Linked DNA regions of Homo sapiens: all the other regions are linked to region 1. The links are contacts of gene promoters, found by promoter capture Hi-C in human tissues and cell types (Jung and others, 2019). All regions are on one chromosome and are shown on one strand. Each heading gives the region's core, a stretch centred on a gene start or on the middle of the fragment in contact. The rest is flanking DNA. Distances are from core to core; before and after follow the strand shown. Region 1 holds the start of COL18A1 (collagen type XVIII alpha 1 chain). Region 2 overlaps PCBP3 (poly(rC) binding protein 3). Region 3 overlaps PCBP3 (poly(rC) binding protein 3). Region 4 holds the start of ADARB1 (adenosine deaminase RNA specific B1). Region 5 overlaps ADARB1 (adenosine deaminase RNA specific B1).

Region 1 (2,777 bases), core at 137-2,636:
CACCCCCTAGAGTTCACACAGTAAATGAGGAATTGTCTACGACTCAACAAGCAGGTGTTTTCAATACATCTACTTATAAGCTAGCTACTTTTTTGAAAGGTCTATGCTACTATTTAACCTGGTGACTAAGTCGATTGGAAACAATGAAACAAATTATTACAGGAATCCAGACGACATCCCTCCCTCCCCCTTTCCTGCTTCCTCACCCGCTGTAGCAAGCAGGTGTGGAGTCGAGTCGGAGGCAGGCGCTGGCTGCGTGGACCCCCGGGTGGGATTCCACCCGCGACAAGGCACCCAGGCCCTTTGGGCGGGGCTCCCCTGGGGTCCGCGTCCCCGCCGCCTCCCCCGGGCCTCTGCTGGGCTGGCTGGAGGCAGGAGGCCCCGGTTAGCAGGTGGTGGGGAACTGGGTCCCGGGGTTGGAGGCAGGAAGGTCCCCACGGGCCCCGCGCACCGTTTGCCGCGCACGGGAAGCGGCGAGGCCGGCGGGGCAGCGGCTTCTGGGCATTGTTCTCGGACCGCGCGGCGCTCGGTTGGCATCAAAGGGGACCGCGCAACCCGACACCACGGCGGGCGCGGGGACAGAGGCCTGAGGGCGGCGGGGACAGAGGCGCACAAGGCCCGGCCCGCGGCGAGGAGCCTCAACAGGTTGGAAACGCGGAGACGACGCCCCGCGCTCCGCCGCCTTCCGCCCGCGGTCAGTCCCGGGACCCGGCGCTGCGGGGACGAGGCCGTGACGGCGACAGAGGCCGCGTCTCCCGAGACCCCGCGGCCCCGCCCCGAGCCCTCCCGGCACCGACGACCCCGCCGGCCGCGGAGGTTCGGTCCCCGCGCGGGGACTCCGGCCGCTCGCACCGCGCACCCCTCCCGGCCCGGACCCCGCGGGGAGAATGAATGGGCGGGACTCCGGCCACCCCGCCCCGCTCCGTCCGGCTCCGGCGCCTCCTGCGCGCGTGGGCAGGGCCGGGGCTGAACCCAGAGCGGCCGGGGCGGGGGTGAGGGAGCCGGGCGGGGACCCCAGCCAGGGCGGCGAGGCCGGCGGGCACCGGCGCGAACCTTCCCGTCCCGCCCGGGTCTTACCTGGCTCCGCGGAGGCCGCGCGGACCCCGAGCAGCAGGACCAGGGGCGCGAGCACGTCCAGGAGGCGCCGCCGCCGCGGCCATGGCCAGGGGCACCTGCGCGGGACAGGCACGGGTCAGACCCCGCAGGACCCCCGCGACCCCCGCAGGACCCGGCCGAGCCCCGCGACCCCCGCGACCCCCGCAGCCGCATCTTGGCGTCCCCCAACCCCTGCCCGCAGCCCCGGCCTCACCTCGGCGCCATGCTCTCCCCAGGACCGTCAGCGCCGCGGGATGCTGCCTCCTCCGCCGCGGTGCACCCGCTCGGACCGCCGCGCTGCAGCCGCCGCCGCTGGGAGGCCGGGCAGGGGGCGGGCAGGGGCCGGGCAGGGGCCGGGCAGGGGGCGGGGCGGGCGCGGGCAGGGGGCGGGCGCGGGGCGGGGCCGGGCAGGGGCCGGGCAGGGGGCGGAGCGACGAGCAGGGCAAGGCCCGGGGAGGGGAGAGGGGGGCGGGCGCCGCAGCGGACCTGCGGCTGCGAGGACGGGGCGGGCCGGGACCCGGGGGCGGCGGGGACGGGCGAGGACGGACGGGGACACGTCCCGCCCCGAGGGAACCGCCCGAGGCTGCGACCCAGCACAGGGCCCGGGGGCTGCCCCGCGAGGAAGCCCAGGTTTATGCGGAAGGTGAACACCGCTGCCCGCCGGGCTACGACCCCAGCCCCTGAGTCCGGTGGGGCAGCGGGAAGGGGGGAGATTTGAATAGAGTCACCGCGGGGGGGACGGGACGGAGGAGGAAGCCGGCACCTCCGGCCCGCAAGGCCCCTGCAGGGTCCTGCCCCGGCTGCACGGAGGGACGGACGCGAGACAGGAGGGGCGTGCGAGGGCCAGATCTGTCCCCAGGTCCCCCTGTTCCCAGGGCGCGGCCCAGCAGAGCCTCTTCCTCCCCAGTTCCCAGGCTCCTCCTCCCTCCCAGGTGAAAACCCTGTTTCTATTTCTTCAGGGCCAGCATCCTGAGCCCCACCTGCAGGCCCTGGGCGCTTTCCTCCTGGCAGCTGTGCCCCCACCCGACCGGACCGCTCCCTGCAACCAGAGAGCCCTCACACCAGCAACACCCCCCAGCCTGCTCCCTCCTCGTGTGCGCGAAACTCATGGCACTGGCTTGACGGCTTTCTCTGAAACCCTCTGATTCCGCCTGGCCCATCCACACTGTCCCTTCCCGGCCAGGGCTCATCTCCTATGCCTGGACCAAACAGCGTAGTCTCCAGTCTCCCTGATCTCCCCACACGTGGCCCCACCCATCCTCTGAAGCAGCCCCAGGAGGCAGCAGTGACTTCACACTTCTAGTGCCCGGCCCTCCCGGCCCTCCTCTCTGGGCTTGCTTGCCAGGGTCCTCCCAACCTGACTGCTGCCTCCCACCTCCTCTCCGCCCCTGGAGCTCTCCAGCCGCAGCCGCGGGGCCTGCTTGGGATTCTCCTCTGCTGGCATCATCCCTGCCTGCCTCAGCCTTCCCAGGCCCAATCCTGCCCGATCTCACCTCTTCCCGCCCAGCCACCTGGTCGGGTCCCGACCAGCATCTGCCTTCAAACCTGGAGTCCTTCCCTGAGTGCTTGCGGTGCACTGTGAGGAAGGAAATCAATGTAAAGGATTATGACCCACATTTTTTAAAAATAAAAAGATTAAGGAGAACAGCATAGAGTAGAAGTGGTCATCGCACACTTCTGCA
Region 2 (2,777 bases), core at 124-2,623, 470 kb before region 1:
TGTTGCCCAGGTTGGAGTACAGCAGCTCACTGCAACCTCCACCTCCCAGGTTCAAGCAATTCCTCCGCCTCAGCCTCCTGAGTGGCTGGGACTACAGGCGTGCCACCATCACACCCGGCTAATTTTTTGTATTTTTAGTAGAGATGGGGTTTCATCACGTTGGCCAGGCGGGTCTCAAACTCCTGACCTCAGGTGATTTGGCTGCTTCGGCCTCCCAAAGTGTTGGGATTACAGGCGTGAGCCATTGCACCTGGCCATTTCATCTTTATATTGATTAAATTGGCAAAATCTGTTTAAAACTGGTACCACTATAAATTCTGATAAATTTGCCAGTTACTCTTTTTTTAAAAAAATATTCAAATCAACAGAATGCTAGTAAAATGAATACTGCCCTAGTAAGAAGTGATGTGTAATGAAACAGCGGCCACACAGGGCCACAGCCCCATGTTTTTCCATATATAAATCCAGGCTGTCCTAACACAGTAGGGCGAGCTCTTCCTCCGTTTTACACGAGGTGACACAGTGCGATGACCCTGAACTGTGACCAGCTGGCTCCAGGCCTAGGTTCCCGACCACCAGAGAGGTAATCCATCATCTATTTTCATGCCAAAAATAACAGTGAATGACATCCCGTCAGACCCGAAAGGAAGAGACCCACGTTTGAAAGTGTCATGTGAGGCCCAAGTTGTAAGGCTTGTTTGCTGGGGGATGGATGAATAGGTTTGGATATTAACATAGAGATGCCTTGGAGTGTAGAAGGGCGGTCACACAGCTGTGAGTGCGGCTGGCAGCAGGCGCCTTGAGCTCTCTCCTGTGTGCCACTGCTTGCCCCGAGAAGGCGGGAGAAGCCTTGCCAGCAAAGCGCCATCTGGGGTCCTCGCAGCCGCAGCGAGCGCTGTCGCAGCCAGCGGCTCTGGCCATACCCCCGTTAGCTGTGCTCTGTCCAGGGCTGCACTCACGGCCTCAGCTGTCTGGGGGATGTGACTGTGGGAGGGAACACAGTGCGGGGTGGGTGGCAGCAGCCCCTACTTGATTTATCCTGTTTAACAGCTCAGTGCCTGCATCAGGCTGCACGAGGCCAGGACGGCGGAAATGACAGGGCAGATTAGCTGCCACATTCTCCTTGAGAGCCTCACATGCACTTCATGTCCCTGAGGCTACCCAGGGCAGGGGAGGCTTCTGGAATTTCATGCTCCTGCCTGTCACAGGCGGCATTCGGAGGCCATCCAGGGCTTACACAGCCTGGCCTCGGCGAGCATTCTGAACAGCCTGCTCCCCTGCTACTCAGCGTCAAGGCAGACAAAGGTGCCAGTGGGGAACAGTGACCGCTCACCTTCCCCTGCTCCAGCGGCCCAGCCACACTGGTCTCATGTCTGGAAGATGCTGAATTTTCCTGACCATAGCCAGGCTCCCTCATGGTGCCAGTGTTCCTTAGTCCCACCTTTGGGAACCACGTAAGAGTGTGCCTCCTACAAATGTTCCAATTCTTTCAAATGCTCATTTCGGGATTCGTAATATCTCTGATGAGAGACAGGGTAGGCCACCCTGAGAGCTGAGTCAAGTCTGGGCTCTGACACTGTCCTGGCTGTGATGGATGCACGTGGACTCGCCTGCCTAAGGGCAGGTTCTGGCCCCTGACCGCTCCATCGGTGCCCTGGTGCTGCACACAACATCTCAGGCTCCACGGGCCCTCTAGTCTTAGTGGGAAGCTGAACGCAGCAGGGACATCCTACTGGCCCATGAAAAAGGGTCCAGCGGGAACATTCCTCACCCCACACCTTTCCTCAGTTCCCACACGGCACCGGGGATGCGGGGCCATGGGCACAGCCATTGTCTGCAAGTGGCTCACAGTCTGGTGGAGAAATTGGCTGTGGGCTGGAGCAGTGGGGGATCCAGACAGCCGAAAATCAACATCGGATCCCACCTCGCCCTCAAATGTGTGTCCTATATAGGTGAAAGATCCAGAAGTGAACAGTAGAAGTTTAACCCTCTTGGAAGGAAGCAAAGGTCAACCTCCCTGTAGCCTCAGGGTCAGTGGGCATGAGGAGGAGAGGCTGCGAATGAGCGGTACTTCCCAGCTCACTGGGAGGGCATCAGAGACAGTATCTGTCCTGCTCTCGCCCTGGACAGGGAGGGACGTCACCCTGGCCATTGCTGGTAGATGTCCCAAGACCCCTGGGGGAAGCTGGTGTGGGCAGGCTGAGCCAGGGGGAAGCAGAGGCACTGCAGCCTGCCAGAGTGGCCCCAACTGACTCTGCACTTTCCCAGGAGCCCAGTAGCAGACCTGAGTTTTTAATCGAATTTGAGTTTTCTGACGTTGTGTGACTTGACCCAATGCATCCCCATGGTGCAGGGGGTGAAAAGCAGCAGCAAGGCGAGTACTGGGCCTGCTGACCCCACAGTTTACTGGAAAAGATAATCCCAGGATGTGGCAACCTGGAACAGCTGCCAGCACATGTGCAGCAGAGAGTCAGCCGCAGCACGCAGCACGGAGGGGCCCCCAGCCCCAGTGAGTCAGCCGGAGCGCGCAGCACGGAGGGGCCCCCAGGCCCGGTGAGTCAGCTGGAGCGCGCCGCGTGGAAGGGCCCCCAGCCCCGGTGAGTCAGCCGGAGCGCGCAACATGGAGGGGCCCCCAGCCTGTCTGGCTGCCGCTGGACGCCCTGAGCCAGGTAGGAGCCTGGAAGGAAGGTGCCGCGTCAGGGGCGACCGCGCTGCTCGGGCTCAGTGACTGGCTTTGTGAGGAGGCTCTTTTGGGAGCTGGGCAGAGCTCCCTACTT
Region 3 (2,777 bases), core at 182-2,681, 440 kb before region 1:
TACACACGGCAAAGGCACACACTCACACGTGTGCACACGGGTGCTTAAGCAGCTCACACACATGCATACACACAGCAAAGGCACACACTCACAAACGTGTACACGCGGGTGCTTAAGCAGCTCACACACACACATACACAGGTGAAGGCACACACTCACACGTGTGGACACAGGTGCTTAAGCAGCTCACATGCATACACATGGCAAAGGCACACACTTACACACATGTGCACACGGGTGCTTAAGCAGCTCACAGCATTAGCCAGGCTCTTAAGAAATGGTTTCAGCTTCACCAGAAGGTTTCAAACCTCAGACAATCACAAGGCAGCATGCTGTCTCTCTGTAACATTCTCCTCATGCCTCTCAGCATCAGGGAAACCGCTTCAGACAGGAAACCATGACTTGGTAAGAGATCATCTGGTGGCAGGTGCCCCTTGCTAACCAAGGCTGGTTAAGATGAACAAAAGGCATAAGAGAGCAGAACTGTCAGTGACCCCTCCGGAGGTGGACTCCTTGAGAATCCAGGTATGGTCCTTTTAGGGAGAACAGTTTAGAAGATATTCAAGCTGATACCTTAAATCTCTGGGGTACCCAGTAAAAAAGTCTAAGAATTCATAAAAGGAAGCTTCTGATGAATGCAAAATTTTGTTCAACCTTAAATAAAGCATATATATATGTAAACTATATATATAAATAAAGCATATATATAAACTTTATATACGTATATAAACTTCATATACGTATATAAAGTTATAACTTTATATACGTATATGAAGTTTATATATAACTTTATATATATGTATATAAACTCAGACCCAGTCTTCTTCTTATGAATCTGCCTGGAGAGGAAGAAAGAAGAACCATGGTTTCATATGTACCAGAGTTTGGACCCTAACGTTGCCACTTTTGTGGGCTAACACCCAGAACTATCTCCATTCTGTCACATCTAAGATGAGGAAGCCACGCTGCCCTTGTGGTGCGCGTGGAACCATGCCGCGGGGAGCACCATTGGCAGGGAGCACCAACACACAGTGCTCACAGAGGAGCGGGGAGACCAGCCTGCCTACCATCTCCATTACTTCTGCCACACAAAATCCTCCAGCCACGCTGAATTCTACCCTGGCAGGTGTCCTGCGGCTGCAACAATGCTGGAGGGAGGGTGGAGAATGTGACCCCAGGGCTCCCTCACCTTGCGCTGGGTGACATCTGGACCATGTGAAGGGCTCTGGAGGGCAGGGCAGCACCACCCACCCCTGCCACCCAATCATAAGAGTCCTTAGGTGCTGGGGCACCTCCCACCCAACGTGTCTATGCTCCATGCAGCAGTGTGCAAGACCTCCCTAAAGTGGGGCTCTCACCAAGACGGCAAAGCATTTCCTAATGCAGTGGGTCAATCGTCCGGCTCAAAGGGCAGCCTTGGAGCTGGACAGACCAGCCCAATGAAAAACAAGCACGGCCTTGTCCGCAACCAGACTGCTGGAGCTGGGGCCTGCAATTTTGGGTAGAAACACTGAGAAGAAAGACTGAAAGAAGGTCAAGGAGAGAGACGAGCATTAATGGAGGAAGAATGCTACAAGAAGGAGCAGTGAGGTCAGAGGTCACAGGCCCCAAATCGCCCAACTGGTGGGAGATGCCAACATACCTCTCTCCTTTACAGTTCACACAAGTATACCCCACAAAAGTAATAAAGATGCAGAATATATTAACAGCACAAACAACATGATAGTGCGTATGTGTGTCTGTGTGTATATAAAACCCTGTACCTGACAAGCAGAGGTAACACATTCTCCTAAGGCTCTCAGAGAACAAAACAAAAATTGATAACGTTTTAGTTCATATTGCAGGTTTCAACAAATGTTGAAAACATGGAGTCCACAGAACATATCTCCTACTCAGTAGGCAATTAAATATCATTAGCAAAAGATAACTTTACAATTCCCTTGGACAAAACACTTTTTAAATGTTTCCAGATAAGAAATAGATGAGATCAGAAAACAGACCTCAACAATAATAAAATTATTGCATGCCAAAATTTGTAGCAAACAGCTGCAACAGAACTCACAGTAAAGTTTATAGCTTTTAAAAGGAGTAAAGAAACACAAAATTAGTGAGTCACGAATCCCATTTAAAAAGTTAGAAAAAGAACAGAAAGTATCCACAGAAAGTGGAAAGGTAATAATAAAGAAAAGTTCAGAAGTTAAGCAAAGAAACAAAGGCAACTGAGAAGATCAGTAAATATAAAATTTGGTTCTTAAAGTCTAAATAATATACAACCCTCTGATGAGATTAATCAAGAAAAACAACTGCGAAGGCACAGGGGATAGTAGTCACGTAAAGGAAGCCATGCCTTCTGGTTCTGGACAGGATGGAATAGACACCTCTCTCCCTATTCTTCCTGCTGAGCACAGCCAACAACTCTGGACATTACATGTGGAACAAACAGAAGAGAACCCTGAAAGCTGGAGGGAAGAAGGGGGACTGGCTGGGCCCTTGGGATTTGGAGAATGACACAGCGGTGAGTTCGCTATTCTTTGGGTTTCTTATTTGTTTGTTCGTTTTGTTTGTGCTTCCTCCTCTATATTTCAGACAGGGCACTGGAAAAGCAACTGAAAAATGCCAAAGGATACACACTGGAAAAAAACAGTCTCAAGAAAATTCTCTCTAGGGAAAGGGATGGGAAAGGAGGAACCTATTAGGTCAGAAAGCATCTGAGAATACCTGCCCTGCTCCATGCACAGGACAGGACGCACACAGCACCCTGCCCGGTCAGAGGGGCT
Region 4 (2,777 bases), core at 83-2,582, 330 kb after region 1:
TAAAGAAACAAGTTTGATATCATGCCACTTTTCGTTATACTTCGAGAACGGAATGCAATAATGGTTAGTAAGAAGGAAGTAAAATGCCTGTATCAGAAGTAACAGCCCAAACCTGCTGACCAAAAATATTAACTGGGAACTAAACACCACGGTGCAGATCTCCGACATAGAAACCTGGACAGGAACACGTTTTAGGTTAGGTTTTCCAGCGTGTAAATCGGGACTCCAACACGTTTCAGCGTCCACAGCCCAATCTGACACCTTCCCTCGCACCCATCCACCACGCAATAATTTTCCTTCTGATGTGAACACGTCAAAAGTCACCTCGGGCCCCCAACTGCCCCAGATTGCTCCCGATCGCTGCAGACGCCCGGCACCCGCAGGAACTTCCCTGGCCCGGGCCGCCCGCGGCGCAGAGCATCCCGCGCGGACACTGCGCCCTCGGAAGGACACGCAGGACCGTCCAGGGCGCAGACTCGTCCCCAACGCAGTCTCCACTCCCGTGGCACAGCGTCCCCTCCCAAGGCAGCCTCCCCTGCCCGGGCCCAGCCTCATCCCGGGCGCAGCCTGCCGTCCCCCGGCGCAGCGTCCCATGCCGGGCGGAGCGTCTCCCCAGGGACATAGCCTACCGTCCCCAGGCGCAGCCTTGTTGCCAACGCAGCCTCCCGTTCCCCGGCGCAACCTTGTACCCGGGGCAGCCTCTGGTCCCCGGGCGCAGCCTCGTCCCCAGCGCAGCCTCCGATCTCCAGGGCACACCGTCCCCTCCCCAAAACGCAGTCTCGGTCCCCAGGGCGCAGCCTCGTCCCGGCGCACCTGCCCTCCCCGCGGCGCAGCGCGGCGCATCCCACGCGGACTCGGCGCCCTCGGGAGGGGACGCGGGGCCGCCCGGGCGCAGCTTCCTCCGGGAGCCGAGCGCCGGAGCAGACGGGCGACCCAGGAGGGTGGGTGCGAGGCGGTGCCGCGGCACCCTCGCTTCTCCGCGGGCGCCCTCCGCTCCCGGGACGGCCCGCAGCTCCGGCCCCACCACCAGTCCCTGCCCGGCGCTTACATAAACGCCGCCACCGCGGGGTCCGGAGCCCGCGCCCGCCCGAGCCGCCGCGGCCCCGCGCCGCCCTCACCTCAGCCGCAGCCGCGCCGCGCCTGGTCCTCCGCACGCGCGCCCCACGCTTCGGCCGCAGTCTCGCGCCGGGCGGCGCTCTGCCTCGTTGGTTGTGCGCAGCGGCGCGGCGTGGCCGTGGCCTCGCGCGGCCCGGAGCCCCGGCCGCCAACCTGGCCGCTTGGCCGCCGCTGCCGCCGCCGCCGCCGCCGCCGCCACGGCCGCCTCAGCGCCTCAGCCCCGCCGCCGGCGGCTCCGCCCCCTCCCCGCCCCCGCCGGCCCGCCGGGCGCGCGCACGCCGAGGGGGCGGGGGCGGCGCAGCGACGCCGGACGTGCGCGCGCTGGGGCGCCCGTGTCTGTCGTGGGCAGCCGGAGCTGTGGCACCTCCCTCACGACCACCTGCGGCGGACGGGCGCGGGGCCGTTGGGGCTGGAGCGCGGCCGGAGCTGAGAGACCGCGGCTGGGCGGCTCCGGAGCGTGGGGCGAGAGCGCGGGACCGGCCTGGCGTCGCGGCGCCGCCCGCCCGAGCGCGGCTGAGGAGACTCTGCCCGCCTTCGTTTTGGGGACGGGGTCTCACTGTCGCCCAGACTGGAGCGCGGTGGACCTCCGAGCTCACGCGATCCTGCCGCCTCAGCCTCCCTGGTAGCTGGGACCGCAGGCGCCCGGCGATTGGCGTTTGCGTTTTGCGGAGGTGGCGTCTCGCGGTGCTGCCCAGGCTCCCGGGCCCCCGCGCTCCTCCCTGCAGCGGGCGCTGCCCCCGCCGAGCCCCCGCCGAGCCCCCGCCGAGCCCCCGCCGAGCCCCCGCCGAGCCCCCGCCGAGCCCCCGCCGAGCCACCCCTGCTTCTCCCTCTCCCGGAGTTGCCTGGGACACGCGGGTCCCGCCGGCCCCCTCTCCCCGCCCGTCATCCTCACTGTAGACTCCGGGAGAACCAGGTCGCGGCCCAGGACCCTGGCTGGACACGGTTCCCGCCGTCTCCTGTTTAGTCCGCACTGACACTAGCAGCTGCTCCAGTTACCAACGTTTAGGTGATGGTGGTTTTGTTTGATTTTTTTTGTTTGTTTGTTTGTTTTAGGTTGATAGTAAAAGCATTTTTTTATAGCATATGCAATAGACCTACTCTTCGATTTATCTATATTTACTGACTGTTCCACAGTTATACCAAGAAATGTTTACACAGATGATGATAAGCATATGTAGAAATGCAACGTTTTCACTGACCGGAATAACCAGCTCCAGGCTGCAGTTCTCTGCACGAAGATAAAGTTTGATAGGCAAACTTGGCAGCTCCTGACCGCGGCGACCTGAGCCCAGAGGAGCAGCCGGGGGCGGTGGGCAGAGCCAGGTGTGGACAAGCGGGTGGGTCCCGCACCTGGGTGGGGGAAGCGGCAGGTTCCAGGGTCAAATTGAGGTTGTACTAGCCCTGGCCTCCAAACCTCAGGCGGCCCACTCTGCCCTCGGCCTCTTTCCTCCCTTGTAAAGTGGGGAGTAAGAGACCATCGCAAGCCAGGGATGGGGTGGCGCACACTGTGATCTCAGCCAGTCTGGAGGCTGGGGCTGGGCGGTGGGGGGGTGCGGGTCGCTTGTGTCTCAGAGCTGGAGCTGTGGTGTGCGAGGCCGAGGTCCGCGCCTATAAATGGCCGCTGCGCTCTGGCCCGGGCAACACTGAGACTCCGACTCTGG
Region 5 (2,777 bases), core at 156-2,655, 290 kb after region 1:
GTTACTAGGCTTTATAGAGGTCTAGTTCAGTATCAAGAAGGGAGGCTCCTGTGCAGAGCTGCAAAGCTTGGTAATGCGCCCACGTGGGGGCCACAAAGTCCTCATCCTCAGAAACAGCATTTCGTGCGTTACCAATGACAGCTTTATTTATAATGGATTTCAATTACCAACACTCTTGCTTTTATCATTTCGATGTCCATTTTCTCATGTTCACAGCAGTTTAATGTGGGCTGTCTGGGTATATACCACGATGACAATTCATAGTTTCAGGAGCCATGATTTTTCAACAACTTATAAGTACCCTAAGTCATCTCCGTCTTTATTTCGAAACAGATGTATAGAACCTCCTCTAAATTCTGATGCAGCAGTAACATTTTATTTGTTGGTGATGTGCTGATTAAGAGTATATGAAATTTAACTAACTTGCAACACACCATCAAGGCAAGTGTAACAAAGTTACCCAGCTATTTTTAAGTTTATGGCCACACTCTTACATAGTAAAGAACAACACGTCTCATAAGAACTTCTGTATCAAAAGTACCTAAACTGGTTCATTTAATTTCATCCCGATTCTTTGATAATGTTGAGTGATATTTCCACTGGAGAGCAAGAACAGCTACTGGTAAAGGTGACCAAGGCACTAATTTTGCCACTGAGAGTGATCTAAAAAGGCTTTTAGGCTAGGCACAGTGGTGTGCTCAGCACTTTGGGAGGCCAAGGTGGGAGGATGGCTTGAGCCTAGGAGTTCGAGACCAGTCTGGGCAACACGGCAAGACCCCACCTCTACAAAAAATTTAAAAATTAATCAGTCAATGTGGCACGTGACTGTGGTCCAAGCTACTCAAGAGGCTGATAACAGGAGTATTGCTTGAGCCCAGAAGGTGGAGGCTGCAGTGAGCCACGATCACACTACTGCACTTCACCCTGGGTGACAGAGCGAGACCCTGCCTCTAAATTAATTAATTAAAAGGGCTTTTAATTAAAAATGGTGATAAAGTACACCATATCTTCTCTCCATTCTTCCCAGAGCTCTGTTAAAATGTCAGAAAAGGTACTTTTTGGTGGTGAATGAACCATAATAGTGCACGGTGCTAAAAATTTACAGAGGGATTTAGCAGAACACAAGAAAGCCTGCCAGGGCTTTTAGGGCATAAGGCAGACGAAAGCAGGTTGATGCGAGAGAGCAGAGGAAACTGCAGAGCAAGACAACAGAGGTGAGGGGTCTTCCCAAGAAGCAGGAGCCATAGGGAACGCTTTTATTCCTGGGCTGAAACCTGAGAATCGCTCTCCAAAGAAAGCCTGAGGTTTTCTAAGGGGTGATCCCAATATGGGCACGCGGGCTGGAAGAGAAGCAGATCCGGGTTTAGGGTAACGAAAAATCAAACCGTCAGGACATGAAGCCCAGGGAGGGAGAGAAGGAGAGAGTAGAAGATGTTTACCTGCAGTAGAACAAGGATCAAACGGATATCCAACTTCTCATTACCAACACTAGACTCTGGAAAATAATAGAGAATATTTTCTGATTTCAAAAGGAAAATTATACGATCCTAGAATTCTAGACCCTACCAAATTATCAATAAGTATGAGAACAAAGTAATTGCATGTTTGAACATTACGTGCAAAAACCCAAGAAGTCTGTCAGCCATCCATTCTATAAGGAAGTGAATTAAGAAGTCTGTCAGCCATCCATTCTATAAGGAAGTGAATTAAGAAGTCTGTCAGCCATCCATTCTATAAGGAAGTGGATTAAGGAGGTGCTCCAGCAAAACAAAAATAGAATCCAAGAAACCAACACCATGGGATAGGAGAAACCATGGCAACTGAGGCAGCTAGAAACAGCGGACACCTAAAGAGAAACTGGGAGTTCCATCTGAATATTCTCCTTTTATTGGCAAAGGTTTGGTGAGGCAGAATTACATTTCATACCACTTGGTTCTATGGCAAAATATACTATCATAATACTATAAATGTTACTTTTCTTATATTAAAATGTTTAGACTACACTTGCAGGAAAAGCACAGGGAGCCTAATGATAGATGGGAAACACTACAAATGTTTTAAGCCTTGTCAATATAAATCTCATCAAAACTCAGAGTGTGAAGGCACTGTTGACTTCCACATGAACTCACAAACAGAAAAGTTAAAGCTATAATGGTGACTACAAGAAGAACTTAAGAGAAGAAAACACAAACTGTACATTGTTTACCTCTGGAAACGGGGCATGGGGTGGGGAGGGAGAAAGAGGAAATCTCCAACTTAATTTATACCCATTCATGAGCTGCAATGTGTTTTTTACCATGTGCTGGTATTACTTCCATTTTTTAAAATAGTTACATTAAAAGGGCCCCCTTATCAATAGCTGATCCATTAAATAACTGCAGTACATCTATAGGACAGAATAATATGTTCTTGTAACAAGTGAAGTAGCATGAGCATTGCGTTAGTTATATAAAGTCAGAATTTTAAAGAAGCTTTTTTTTTTTTAACTGTGAAAGAACAAAGATAAAGTGTCACAGTCCTACGAAGAGAACGGCACTACCTGTACTGACATGCAGGATGTGACGGGACAGCTGCGTTATAGAGAGATGTGCACAGAAAACCCCTGTGTATCTCAGAAATCCCATATACATAACAGAAACTCCTCATCTATTATATATGCCAGAATCCAGTGCTGACACAAACTAGTGGGTACGTACCCTTCCATATTTTTCCTATGTACACACACACAACATTTTGTAAGCCTAAAAAGCTGGCACAAAAAGCAAACCAACTTCACA

The links. Contacts are between HindIII fragments. The study calls those that stand out against the background at their distance.
Region 2: a contact is called between a fragment that was not itself captured here and the fragment with the promoter of COL18A1 in region 1, in 1 of the 25 tissues and cell types used here (spleen).
Region 3: a contact is called between a fragment that was not itself captured here and the fragment with the promoter of COL18A1 in region 1, in 3 of the 25 tissues and cell types used here (dorsolateral prefrontal cortex, lymphoblastoid cells and spleen).
Region 4: a contact is called between the fragment with the promoter of ADARB1 here and the fragment with the promoter of COL18A1 in region 1, in 4 of the 25 tissues and cell types used here (bladder, mesendoderm cells, neural progenitor cells and 1 more).
Region 5: a fragment that was not itself captured here is called in contact with the fragment with the promoter of COL18A1 in region 1 in 2 of the 25 tissues and cell types used here (dorsolateral prefrontal cortex and spleen).

The regions. Positions count from the first base shown.
Region 1 is chr21:45,403,774-45,406,550 of GRCh38, reverse strand. COL18A1 (collagen type XVIII alpha 1 chain) reads right to left here and starts at 1,386. Exons shown (of 42, transcript NM_001379500.1): 1 at 1,310-1,386; 2 at 1,078-1,172. The coding sequence starts at 1,320. BNAT1 (breast cancer associated ESR1 regulating natural antisense transcript 1) reads left to right here and starts at 189. Exons shown (of 2, transcript NR_183526.1): 1 at 189-384; 2 at 2,055-2,745. RefSeq lists an enhancer at 1,531-2,231. The HindIII fragment of the contact is 38,297 bases long and covers 1-2,777 here.
Region 2 is chr21:45,875,001-45,877,777 of GRCh38, reverse strand. The region is part of intron 5 of PCBP3 (poly(rC) binding protein 3); the gene reads right to left. Among named protein-coding and RNA genes, the nearest start is that of PCBP3-AS1, 40 kb to the right of the region's middle. The HindIII fragment of the contact is 8,021 bases long and covers 1-2,777 here.
Region 3 is chr21:45,842,831-45,845,607 of GRCh38, reverse strand. The region is part of intron 4 of PCBP3 (poly(rC) binding protein 3); the gene reads right to left. Among named protein-coding and RNA genes, the nearest start is that of PCBP3-AS1, 7.8 kb to the right of the region's middle. The HindIII fragment of the contact is 8,875 bases long and covers 1-2,777 here.
Region 4 is chr21:45,073,135-45,075,911 of GRCh38, reverse strand. It overlaps ADARB1 (adenosine deaminase RNA specific B1), which reads right to left and starts at 1,332. Exons shown (of 11, transcript NM_001112.4): 1 at 1,119-1,332. It overlaps LOC105372836 (a long non-coding RNA gene), which reads left to right and starts at 2,171. Exons shown (of 5, transcript XR_937796.3): 1 at 2,171-2,439. It also overlaps the pseudogene SSR4P1. RefSeq lists silencers at 1,379-1,578, 1,599-1,688. The HindIII fragment of the contact is 7,799 bases long and covers 1-2,777 here.
Region 5 is chr21:45,117,282-45,120,058 of GRCh38, reverse strand. The region is part of intron 1 of ADARB1 (adenosine deaminase RNA specific B1); the gene reads right to left. Among named protein-coding and RNA genes, the nearest start is that of ADARB1, 44 kb to the right of the region's middle. The HindIII fragment of the contact is 3,865 bases long and covers 1-2,777 here.